Regions from separate parts of the Homo sapiens genome. Here regions 1 and 2 are each linked to region 3. The links are contacts of gene promoters, found by promoter capture Hi-C in human tissues and cell types (Jung and others, 2019). All regions are on one chromosome and are shown on one strand. Each heading gives the region's core, a stretch centred on a gene start or on the middle of the fragment in contact. The rest is flanking DNA. Distances are from core to core; before and after follow the strand shown.

Region 1 (3,840 bases), core at 1,094-3,593, 230 kb before region 3:
CATCAAAAAACCAGTATTAATCCAGGGGAAGAGAGGAAACTAAGACTGCAGGTGTTTAGTTTTATTTTTCTCTCTAAGCCATCAACTTTGCTGATTTGTGTAAGGTAGGGGGTAATTTATCTGAATTACCAGGAACTTAAAAAGCTGGGGAGTTATGCTTCCAAAAAAAGTTGAATGAGCTCCTATCATGCCAACTTTCTTGTAGGTACAACTACATTTAGAAAATAACTTCCTGAAAGCACTTAAGAGTGGGATAGGAAGAAAAAAGACCTGGAAGATTCTGGAGGGGAATTGAAATTTGGAAGATGGGAATGATGTGTTTCCCAATTTTCAGCTTTTAGCCTAACTGTTAGGTACAGTTGACACCACGTATGGAAGCTACAACTCCAAAGAAAACCTGCAGTCTACTGGCCTGATGCATCAGAGACAGAGTCAGGAAAACCACAGCCACTGGAGAGAGAGGGAAAACCCAGAAAGAGTCAGAGAAAAGTCCCAGATCTTTGGCTGATCCTTGATCCATGCATGCTCAGTATAGACTCAAAGCAGCCCAGCTAAAGATAAAAGAACTAAACTGAGTTTGACCTGATTCCTAACAGTGAGAGTTTGAGGTTTGAATCCTACCAAGTTAATTGCCTGCTAAAACAAAACAAAATCAACATTCCCAAAAGGAATGTATCATATTCCAGAGTCTCCATAATGTAACATTTTCAATGTTCAAGATACAATCCAAAGAAGAAATGGAGAATTAAGGCCCGTTTTTTAAAGGAAAAGAAAATAAATAGAGACCAACTGTGATGACTCAGATGTTGGAATAGACAAGAATTTTAAAACAACTATAATAACTATGCTCAGTAAGGTAAAAGAAGATATGTTCATAACAAATGCAACAATGAGAAACTTCAGCAGGGAAATAGAAACTATTTTTAAAAAGCAAAAGGAATTCTAAAACTGAAAAACACAATATTTGAAATCAAATAATCACTGTATGGACTTAGCAACAGAATGGAGATAACAAAAGAAAGAGTCAATAAACTTGAAGCAACATCAATAGATAGCCCATCTAAAGAAGAAAAGTAGGAAAAAGGTTGGAAAAAAATGATTTTTAATCCTTAGGGACCCAAGAGACAAAACATCTAACACACATGTAACTGGAGGTCCAAGAAGGACCAGAGAGAAAGGGTTAGACAAAATATTTGAAGAAATAATGGTTTAAATTATCCCAATTTGTTGAAATTTACACATTCAAAAATTTGTTAAGCCCTTAGCAGAATAAATATAAAGTAAACTATGCATAGGCACATCATGGTTAAACTGCTAAAAACTAAAAATCAAGATAATTTAAAATGTTAGCTTTTTAAGACTGTTTCTTTATAGTAGAATATTTAAGCCATTCAAATTATGTTTTGATACTTGTAATAAGCTCCTGGGAAGACAGGGTAGAAGCATTATTTTCCCTTGGAGCTCACTAAACCTGCCAGGACAATTCTTAGAATTTGGTACATGGCAAATGGATTCTGTTAACTGGGTGTCCTTATTTTGGTCAACTGTAACATTACTAGAAGGCTTCTAACCAAAAATTAATGCAAAAGCTTGTCTTTTGGGGCTATGATGATTTGTTTTGATTTTGTATTTTATTCACCCAGCTAAAATGCAGTCTTTATTTTTAGTATCAATCACAACTAAGTTATCTACAAATTCAATACAATCACTATCAAAATTGCAATGGTATTTTTCACAGAAATAGAAAAAACGATACTAAAATTTATATTGAACCACAGAAGGCCTAGAATAGCCAAAGCAATATTGAGCAAGAAGAACAAAGCTAGAGACATCACATTACCTGATTTCAAAATATATTACAAAGCTATAGTAATAAAAACAGTATGGTACTGGCATAAAAACACACATATAGACCAACGGAACAGAATTGACAGCCCAGAAATAAATTTACACATTTACAGTTAACAGATTCAACAAAAGTATGAAGAACACACAACAGGGAAAGGATAATCTCTTCAATAAATAGTCCTGGGAAAACTGGATAACCACAAGCAGAAGAATAAAATTAGAACCTCATCTCATTATATTCAAAACTCAAAACAAAATTGACTAAAGACACAACATAAGACCTGAAATTGTAAAACTACTAGAAGAAAACAGACGGGAAAAGCTTCTTGATACTGATCCGGGCAATGATTTTTTTGGATATGACCTCAAAAGCACAGACAACAAAAGCACAAATAGACAAATGTGATTGCATCAAACTAACAAGCTTCTGCACAGCAAAGAAAACAATCAACAGAGTGAAGAAACAATGTATGGAACAAGAGAATGTATTTCCAAAGTATACACCTGATAAGAGGTTAATATCCAGAATATATAAGGAACGCAAACCACTTAATAGCAAGAAAACAACCTGATAAAAAAATGGACAAAGGACCTGAATAGACATCTTTTTTTTTCTTTTTCATTTTTTGAGATGGAGTTTCACTCTTGTTGCCCAGGCTGGAATGCAATGGCATGACCTCAGCTCACCACAACCTCCACCTCCCTGGTTCAAGCGATTCTCCTGCCTCAGCCCCCCAAGTAGCTGGGATTAAAGGCATGCACCACCGTGCCTGACTAATTCTGTATTTTTAGTAGAGACGGGGTTTCTCGTTGTTGGTCAGGCTGGTCTCGAACTCCCAACCTCAGGTGATCCGCCCGCCTTGGCCTCCCAAAGTGCTGGGATTACAGGCATGAGCCATCGTGCCCAGCCGACATCTCTTAAAAGACGACATACAAATGGCCAACAGGTCTATGAAAAATACTCAACCTCACTGATCATCAGGGAAATGAAAATCAAAACCACAATGAGATATCACATCACGCCTGCTAGAATGGCAAGGATGTAGATAATAGGGAACCCTTGTATGCTGTTGGTGGGAATGTAAATTGGTACAGTCATTATGGAAAACAATAAGGAAGTTCTTCAAAACACTCAAAATAGAACTGCCATATGATCCAGCAATCCCATTTCTGGTATATATCCAAGAGAAATGAAATCACTATCTCAAAGAGACATCTGTTTTCTCATGTCCATTGCAGCATTGCTTACAGTAGCCAAAATATGGACTTGACCATTCGTCCATCCATGGATGAATGGATAAAGAAAATGTGGTGTGTACACATATATAATGGCATATTATTCAGCCTTTGAAAAGAAGGAAATCCTGTCATTTGCAACAACACGGATGAACCTGGAGGGCACCATGCTAAGTGAAATAAGCCAGGCATATAAAGACCAATACTGTAAGATCTCTTCTATAAGTGGAATCTGAAAAAGTCAAACTTATAGAAGCAGAGTAGCATAGTGGTTCCCAGGGACTACAGGGTGGAGGAAATGGGGAGATGTTGGTCAAAGGGCAAAAACTTTTAATTACACAGTAGGATAAGTAAGTTCTGGAGTTCTAATAGACAGTGTGGTAGCTAAACTTAATATTACTGTATTGTACACTTGAAATGTGCTGAGCAATTTTAAATGCTCTCACCACACCCACACACACAGATAACTGTGTGAGGTGATGGATATGTTAATTAGCTTAACAGCAGTAATCATTTCACAATGTATAGATATATCAAAATATCACATTTTGCACCTTAACTACATACAATTTTTATTTAGCAATTAGACCTTGATAAAGCTGGAAAAAAACTTAATCACAACTTCTTACTCAAAGCAGATGGTAGAAAGGTTAAGAACTATTAATAAGCATAAAGGAAATCTGACTACTGAAATCAAGTTTCTGTTGGGATGGCAGAAGACCTTAAAATATCATGAAGCCTTGATTTTTTTAGTTT
Region 2 (3,929 bases), core at 634-3,133, 210 kb after region 3:
AAATGTCCCTGCCTACTGGCTCTGAAGAGAGCAGCAGATCTCCCAGTACAGGGCTCGAGCTTTGCTAAGGGACAGACTGCCTCCTCAAATGGGTCCCTGATGCCCATGTCTCTTGATGGGCAGACACCTCCCAGCAGGGGTTGACAAGACACCTCATACAGGAGTGCTGTGGCTGACATCTGGTGGGTGCCCCTCTGGGATGAAGCTTCCAGAGGAAGGAACAGCAGCAATCTTTGCTGTTTTGCAGCCTCCGCTAGTGATAACCAGGCAAACAGGGTCTGGAGTGGACCTCCAGCAAACTACAGCAGACCTGTAGCAGAGGGGCCTGACTGTTAGAAGGAAAACTAACAAATAGAAAGGAATAGCATCAACATCAACAAAAAGGACGTCTACACAAAAACTCCATCCGAAAGTCACCAACATCAAAGACCAAAGGTAGATAAATCCATGAAGATGAAAAAGAACCGGTGCAAAGTAGCTGAAAATTCCCAAAACCAGAATGTCTCTTCTCCTCCAAAGGACCACAACTCTTTAGCAGCAAGGGAACAAAACTGGATGGAGAATGAGTTTGATGAATTGACAGAAGTAGGCTTCAGAAGGTGGGTAATAACAAACTTCTCTGAGCTAAAGGAGCATTTCTAACCCAATGCAAGTAAGCTAAGGACGTTGACGAAAGGTTAGAGGAATTGCTAACTAGAATAACCAGTTTAGACAAGAACATAAATGACTTGATGGAGCTGAAAAACACGAAATGAGAACTTAGTGAAGCATACACAAGTATCAGTGGGTGAATTGATCAAGCAGAAGAAAGGATATCAGAGATTGAAGGTCAACTTAATGAAATAAAGTGTGAAGACAGGATTCGAGAAAGAAGAATGAAAAGGAACAAATAAAGTGTCCAAGAAATATGGGACTATGTGAAAAGACCAAACCTACATTTGATTGGTGTACCTGAAAGTGATGGGGAGAATGGAACCAAGTTGGAAAACACTCTTCAGGATATCATCCAGGAGAACTTCCCCAACCTAGCAAGACAGACCAACAATCAAATTCCGGAAATACAGAGGACACCACAAAATACTCCTTGAAAAGAGCAACTCCAAGACACATAATCATCAGATTCACCAAGGTTGAAATGAAGGAAAAAGTGTTAAGGGCAGTCAGACAGAAAGGTCAGGTTACCCATAAAGGGAAGCCCATCAGACTAACAGTGGATCTCTCTGCAGAAACCCTACAAGCCAGAAAAGAGTGGGGGCCAATATTCAATACTCTTAAAGAAAAGAATTTTCAACTGAGAATTTCATATCTGGCCAAACTAGCTTCATAAGTGAAGGAGAAATAACATCCTTTACAGACAAGCAAATGCTGAGAGATTTTGTCACCACCAGGCCTACCTTAGAAGAGCTCCTGAAGAAAGCACTAAATATGGAAAGGAAAACCAGTACCAGCCACTGCAAAAACATACCAAATTGTAAAGACCATCAACACTATGAAGAAACTGCCTCAACTAACAGGCAAAATAACCAGCTAGCATCCTAATGACAGGATCAAATTCACACATAACAATAAGGCTAAATGCCCCAATTAAAAGACACAGACTGGCAAATTAGATAAAGAGTCAAGAGCCATCAGTGTGCTGTATTTAGGAGACCCATCTCACGTGCAAAGACACACTCAGGCTCAAAATAAAGGGAGTTTACCAAACAAACAGAAAGAAAAAAAAAAAAAAAGCAGGGGTTGCAATCCTAGTCTCTGATAAAACAGACTTTAAATCAATAAAGACCACAAAAGACAAAGAAGGGCATTACATAATGGTAAACGGAGCAATGCAACAAGAAGAGCTCACTATCCTAAATATATACGCACTCAATACAGGAGCACCCAATACAGGAGCACCCAGATTCACAAAGCAAGTTCTTAGAGACCTACAAGGAGACTTAGACTCCCAAACAATAATAGTGGAAGACTTTAATACCCCACTGTCAATATTAGACAGAAAATTAACAAGGATATTCAGGACTTGAACTCAGCTCTGGACCAAGCGGACCTAATAGACATCTGCAGAACTCTCCACCTCAAATCAACAGAATATACATTTTTCTCAGCACCACTTTGCACTTATTCTAAAATTGACCACATAAGTGGAAGTAAAACACTCCTCAGCAAATGCAAAACAACAGAAATCATAACAATCTCTCAGATCACAGTACAATCAAATTAGAACTCAGGATTAAGAAACTCACTCAAAACTGCACAACTACGTGGAAACTGAACAACCTACTCCTGAATGACTACTGGGTAAATAATGAAATTAAGGCAGAAATAAATAAGTTCTTTGAAACCAATAAGAACAAAGATACAATGTACCAGAATCTCTGGGACACAGCTAAAGCGGCGTTTAGAGGGAGATTTATAGCACTAAATGCCCACAGGAGAAAGCGGGAAAGATCTAAAATCAACATCCTAACGTCACAATGAAAAGAACTAGAGAAATGAGAGCAAACAAATTCAAAAGCTAGCAGAGGACAAGAAATAACTAAGATCAGAGCAGAACTGAAGGAGATAGAGACACGAAAAGACCTATGAAAAAATCAATGAATCCAGGAGCTGGGTTTTTGAAAAGATCAACAAAAAGATAGATCACTAGCCAGACTAATAAAGAAGAAAATAGAGAATAGACACAATAAAAAATGATAAAGGGGATGTCACCGCTGATTCCACATAAATACAAACTACCATCAGAGAATCCTATAAACATCTCTATGCAAATATACTAGAAAATTTGGAGGAAATGGATAAATTCCTGGACACGTACACCCTCTCAAGACTAAACCAGGAAGAAGTTGAATCCCTGAATAGACCAATTACAAGTTCTGAAATTAAGGCAGTCATTAATAGCCTACCGACCAAAAAAAGCCCAGGACCAGACAGATTCACAGCCAAATTCTACCAGAGGTACCAAGAGGAGCTGGTACCATTCCTTCTGAAATTATTCCAAACGATAGAAAAGGAGGGGCTCCTCCCTAACTCATTTTATGAGGCCAGCATCATCCTGATACCAAAGCCTGGCAGAGACACAACAAAAAAAGAAAACTTCAGGCCAATATCCCTGATGAACATTGATGTGAAAATCCTCAATAAAACACTGGCAAACTGAATCCAGCAGCACATGAAAAAGTTTATCCACCACGATCAAGTTGGCTTCATCCCTGGAATGCAAGCCGGGTTCAACATATGCAAATCAATAAACGTAATTCATCACATAAACAGCCAATGACAAAAACCACATGATTATCTCAATAGATGCAGAAAAGGCCTTCGATAAAATTCAACACTCCTTCATGCTAAAAATTCTCAATAAGTTAGGTATTGATGCAACATATCTCAAAATGATAAGAGCTATTTAGGACAAACCCACAGCCAATATCATACTGAATGGGCAAAAGCTGGAAGCATTCCCTTTGAAAACCAGCACAAGACAAGGATGCCCTCTCTTACCACTCCTATTCAACATAGTATTGGAAGTTCTGGACAGGGCAATCAGGCAAGAGAAAGATATAAAGGGTATTCAAATAGGATGAGAAGAAGTCAAATTGTTTCTGTTTGCAGATGACATGATTGTATATGTAGAAAACCCCATCGTCTCAGCCCAAAATCTCCTTAAGCTGATAAGCAACTTCAGCAAAGTCTCAGGATACAAAATCAGTGTGCAAAAATCACAAGCATTCCTATGCACCAATAACAGACAAAGAGAGAGCCAAATCATGAGTGAACTCCCATTCACAATTGCTTCAAAGACAATAAAATACTTAGGAATACAACTCACAAGGGGTGTGAAGGTCCTCTTCAAAGAGAACTACAAATCACTGCTCAAGGAAATAAGAGGACACAAAACAAATGGAAAAACATTCTATGCTCATTGATGGGAA
Region 3 (3,923 bases), core at 821-3,320:
ACAAGGCAAATTCTTCATGTGTGAAATGGGAATAATACTATCTACCTTGCAGGGTTATTGTGAGAACTAAATGAGAGACTGTGAAAATTGGTAAACTGAATACTATACCAAGTTGAAAAACATTTCCTATTATATAGGAGGCAGTAAATTAGATGGTTAAGATTCATGTAAAATAAAGGTCTTGATAATAATAAAATGTAGTCCGGTAGAAAAGACAGACATAAAAGAACATATTAGAATGCAGTAAATACTATATTGACAACAGACAAAACTGCATTGGTTCCCCAGAGGAACTAGAAAAAAACAGAAGATAAACTGGTGTTGAACTATGACAGATGGAGAAAGTGGAATTCTAAGTTTAAAAAAAAAATGCATGTACAAAGAGCATAGAGACATGGAGAGCATACAGCATAATGTGTTCAGGGAATTGTGACAAATTCGAAATGTCTAGAGTAAGAGAGATAACAGAGGGAGATGAATCTAGTAAAACAGATTAGGGAGATTGTGTGAAAGGCCCTATGTAATGCTGTACTATAAGAATGGAAAGCCGGCCAGGCGTGGTGGCTCACGCTTATAATCCAGCACTTTGGAAGGCAGAGGAGGGCAGATTATGAGGTCAAGAGATTGAGACTATCCTGGCCAACATGGTGAAACTCGTTTCTACTAAAAACACAAAATTTAGCTGGGCATGGTGGCGCGCTCCTGTAGTCCCAGCTACTCGGGAGGCTGAGGCAGGAATCGCTTGAACCCGGGAGGCGAGGGTTGCAGTGAGCCGAGATCGCGCCACTGCACTCAGCCTGGCAGCAGAGCGACACTCCGTCTCAAAAAAAAAAAAAAAAAAAAAAAAAAAAAAAAAAAAAAAATAATGGAAAGCCATCACAGGTTGTCAAACAGAGAAAAAACAATTAAGTGTATATTTCAGAAAGATAATTATATTTTAATGTGTAGGATTGGCTGGAGAGAAGGGGTAGAAAGGCCAGAGAAATGTTGAAATAATTTAAGTAGGACTAATTGGTACAGATTTCTAACAGATAGCTAGAAATACAGATCTAGAGTTTGGAGAAGACAATATGGGAATACAGCTCTAGAAATAAGCCAAGTAGTAAATAATCCACCCAGGGAGGGGATATGATAGCAAAGAAGTATCAAAAGTCAGCATTTCAAGAATGATCTCCCAAACCAGGGGAAAAGTGATTCCAAACCTAGAGTAGGAGTTTTAGGAAGGGAGAAGTCAGAAAAGTGTGAATTGGGCTTAGCAATTTAGAAAGGTTTGTGGAAAAGTGTAGTTGGATGCGAGAGAATAGCGGATGGGAAGAAAACAAAGTAAGGAGACAGGTCATGTTTACCCTGGCACTCAATAAGGTCTGATAATGACTAGCAAGTAGCACCACGGGTGGGTGGGCGGCGGGGTTGTTAAAAATACGTATCTCAGCTCTAACTCAGACCTACTGAATCAGAATCTACATTTTAACAAGCCGCCAGAGAAAAGTAGTTATACCTTTAAAAAATTGACTTGGACCACCGTATTTGCTAAATTTGACAACAGAGAGTAGGAGATTCAGATAACTTGAAACGGAGGAATAGTTCAATGATTAATAGTTCCCAATTTGGCCTCAAGCTTTCTCGTTTTAATTGAAAAACAAGGTTAACTTGCAAAAACCTCGAGATTCTCAGGGAAAAGCAGTGAGGATGACCTAACAGTAGACACCAAACAACCTCACTCAGCCATTCCGCCATGCCCAGCGCGAAAGACTCAGGTTTAAAATATCCGGATTCGGCGCGCCGGATGTCCACGCCAGCTGGCGCGGCATTATGGGAATTGTAGTCCCGGCCCGCTTCCCGATTTACCACAAACTGTTGGGCCCGGAGTCGGAAGAGACCCGGGTTTGGGAAGGACCCCAGGGTCAGGCGTCCTGGTGGAAGGGCGGGCCTCTTTCTCTCTTGCTCAGCAGGGAGTCCAGAGCCCTGGAGGAAAGCCAGCTCAGCTCCGCATCGGCGTCGGCGGTTGGGACGCACACACTCTGCGTCATGGAGGGCTGAGGCCGATGATGAATTCCGGAGTGCCTGTCAGGCTTGCTGTGTCACTCGGCCCGCTCGGCGCGCCCCTTCCCAGCCGCCCTTCCGTACCGGCTCTCGGGCTCTTCCGGTCTCCGGCCGCCCCTTACCTGCAGGCTCTTCTCCCGCCGCGGCCCGGCGCTCTCCGAGTCGCCCCTGCGGACTGGTCTCGCACAGTGCCTGGGCACCGGGCGCCAGACAGACACTGGCCATGACGAGCGGCGCAACCAGGTACCGGCTGAGCTGCTCGCTCCGGGGCCACGAGCTGGACGTACGGGGCCTGGTGTGCTGCGCCTATCCGCCGGGAGCCTTTGTGTCCGTGTCCCGAGACCGCACCACCCGCCTCTGGGCCCCAGACAGGTGAGCGCTGGGAGTCGGGTTGCCCCGGCTGTGTTGCACGCTTCCCGGAGAGTGGAAGGAGAGTGACCCTTCCCTGTCAGTCCTGCCGTCTCTCTCTCCCCCCAGCCTTCCCTCTGCTCTCCGCTCCCTTCCAATTCTCAGACTATTAGAACTCTGTAAGAAACCATCGGGATTTAAGTGGAAAGAGCACAGGGTTGGGGGACCAAAGACCTGCCTTGTTGTGCTAACTTGACCACAGACGAGTCTCCTACCTTTTGGGCCTTCAGTTTTTGGACGATGATCTCCCAAGTTTCTTTTAGACTTGAAAATTTACTGATTGCAGTTGCACCCTCCGAAGTGAGGTAGTTTGAAGGCATCTGAAATGTCCTCTTTTTTTTTTTTTTTCGAAGAAGATGCTCTGTAGTCTTCTGTAAAATTTAATTTTTGAAGACTTTAGTTCTCAAAAATTGCACTGGTGAATCCTCTTTTCGTCCAGGTTAGAATTTTAGTCTGTGGTCTGTGCTGGTCCTGAGGGAGTGAAACCTCTCGGATGTTTTGTTTCTGTGCATGTGCTGTTTCTTGAGGAGAAGCAGCATCCATTGCCTTCAAAGGATTTATCAGAAGGGTTCACGAACCAAAAAAAAAAAGAAGAAAAAGGTTAGGAATCAGTCCTGATCGAGTTCACGGGTTCAGCCCTGATTTGGCTGGTTGTAACAGGATATTTAAGACCTAGAAGACAGATTGCAGTTCAGAGAAAGAAAAATTGAGGTTAGTTATTTTGTTATTTAGTAGGTCTCCCACTGCTAGAGATTTTAGAATTTGAGTCACCATCCATAAATTCAGTTGATAACTGTTGAGTGCCTCCTCTTTGTTTGGGATACTGGAGAGGAATAAAGACAGACAAGTTGCCAGTGTTTCTGGAGCTTTCTTACAGTCTGATGGGGAAGATAGATTAAAAAACAAGCCAATAAATAATTAAAAACTGGCATGTGAAGAAAACATACAGTTAATTAGGTGGAGAGATATATTAAAGGAAGCCTCTCTGAGGAGTTGTTTGTTTAAAGTTGACATTTGAAGCATGAGATGGATGGAGCTGGTCGTGGAAGAGCAAATAGGGAGGATTGAATTGGAAGAGCATTCCAGGCAGCTGGAGGAGCAAACAGGAGGGAATTAGCTGTGAGGTGAGGGCAGGTTTTGAGGCTGGCAAGAGCCAGGTTATGGAGTTTGCAGATGGAAGCCTTCAAATAGTTTCAAGCAGGGAGCAACATGATCTGATTTCCGTGTTGAGAAGTTTCTGCTAGCTGATGGTAGAGAATAGATTGAGAAGGGATAAGTGTAGAAGTGGGTTTGCTTGGAGGCTTTTGAAGTAGTATAATCAACACAAGATGGTCCACTAGGCTAGGGATAGTATAGAGCAAATTCCTGTATTGAATTGAATGAGATGATCTCTAAAGATCTAACTCTAAAATTCTATAATATCCAAAACTACTTAGTAATACTAATATGGAACTTTTTGTTTGAGTACAGTT

The links. The method cuts DNA at HindIII sites, captures the fragments that hold promoters and counts their contacts. A contact is called where the count stands out against the background at its distance.
Region 1: a fragment that was not itself captured here is called in contact with the fragment with the promoter of PLAA in region 3 in 2 of the 25 tissues and cell types used here (IMR-90 fibroblasts and mesenchymal stem cells).
Region 2: a contact is called between a fragment that was not itself captured here and the fragment with the promoter of PLAA in region 3, in 1 of the 25 tissues and cell types used here (IMR-90 fibroblasts).

Annotation. Positions count from the first base shown.
Region 1 is chr9:27,176,387-27,180,226 of GRCh38, reverse strand. The region is part of intron 6 of TEK (TEK receptor tyrosine kinase); the gene reads right to left. Among named protein-coding and RNA genes, the nearest start is that of TEK, 69 kb to the right of the region's middle. The HindIII fragment of the contact is 3,143 bases long and covers 772-3,840 here.
Region 2 is chr9:26,731,219-26,735,147 of GRCh38, reverse strand. No RefSeq gene overlaps it. Among named protein-coding and RNA genes, the nearest start is that of CAAP1, 160 kb to the left of the region's middle. The HindIII fragment of the contact is 3,842 bases long and covers 1-3,804 here.
Region 3 is chr9:26,945,389-26,949,311 of GRCh38, reverse strand. PLAA (phospholipase A2 activating protein) reads left to right here and starts at 2,070. Exons shown (of 14, transcript NM_001031689.3): 1 at 2,070-2,415. The coding sequence starts at 2,267. It also overlaps a transcript of IFT74 not described here. RefSeq lists enhancers at 1,747-2,056, 1,646-2,319, 2,317-2,576, 2,320-2,995. The HindIII fragment of the contact is 5,571 bases long and covers 766-3,923 here.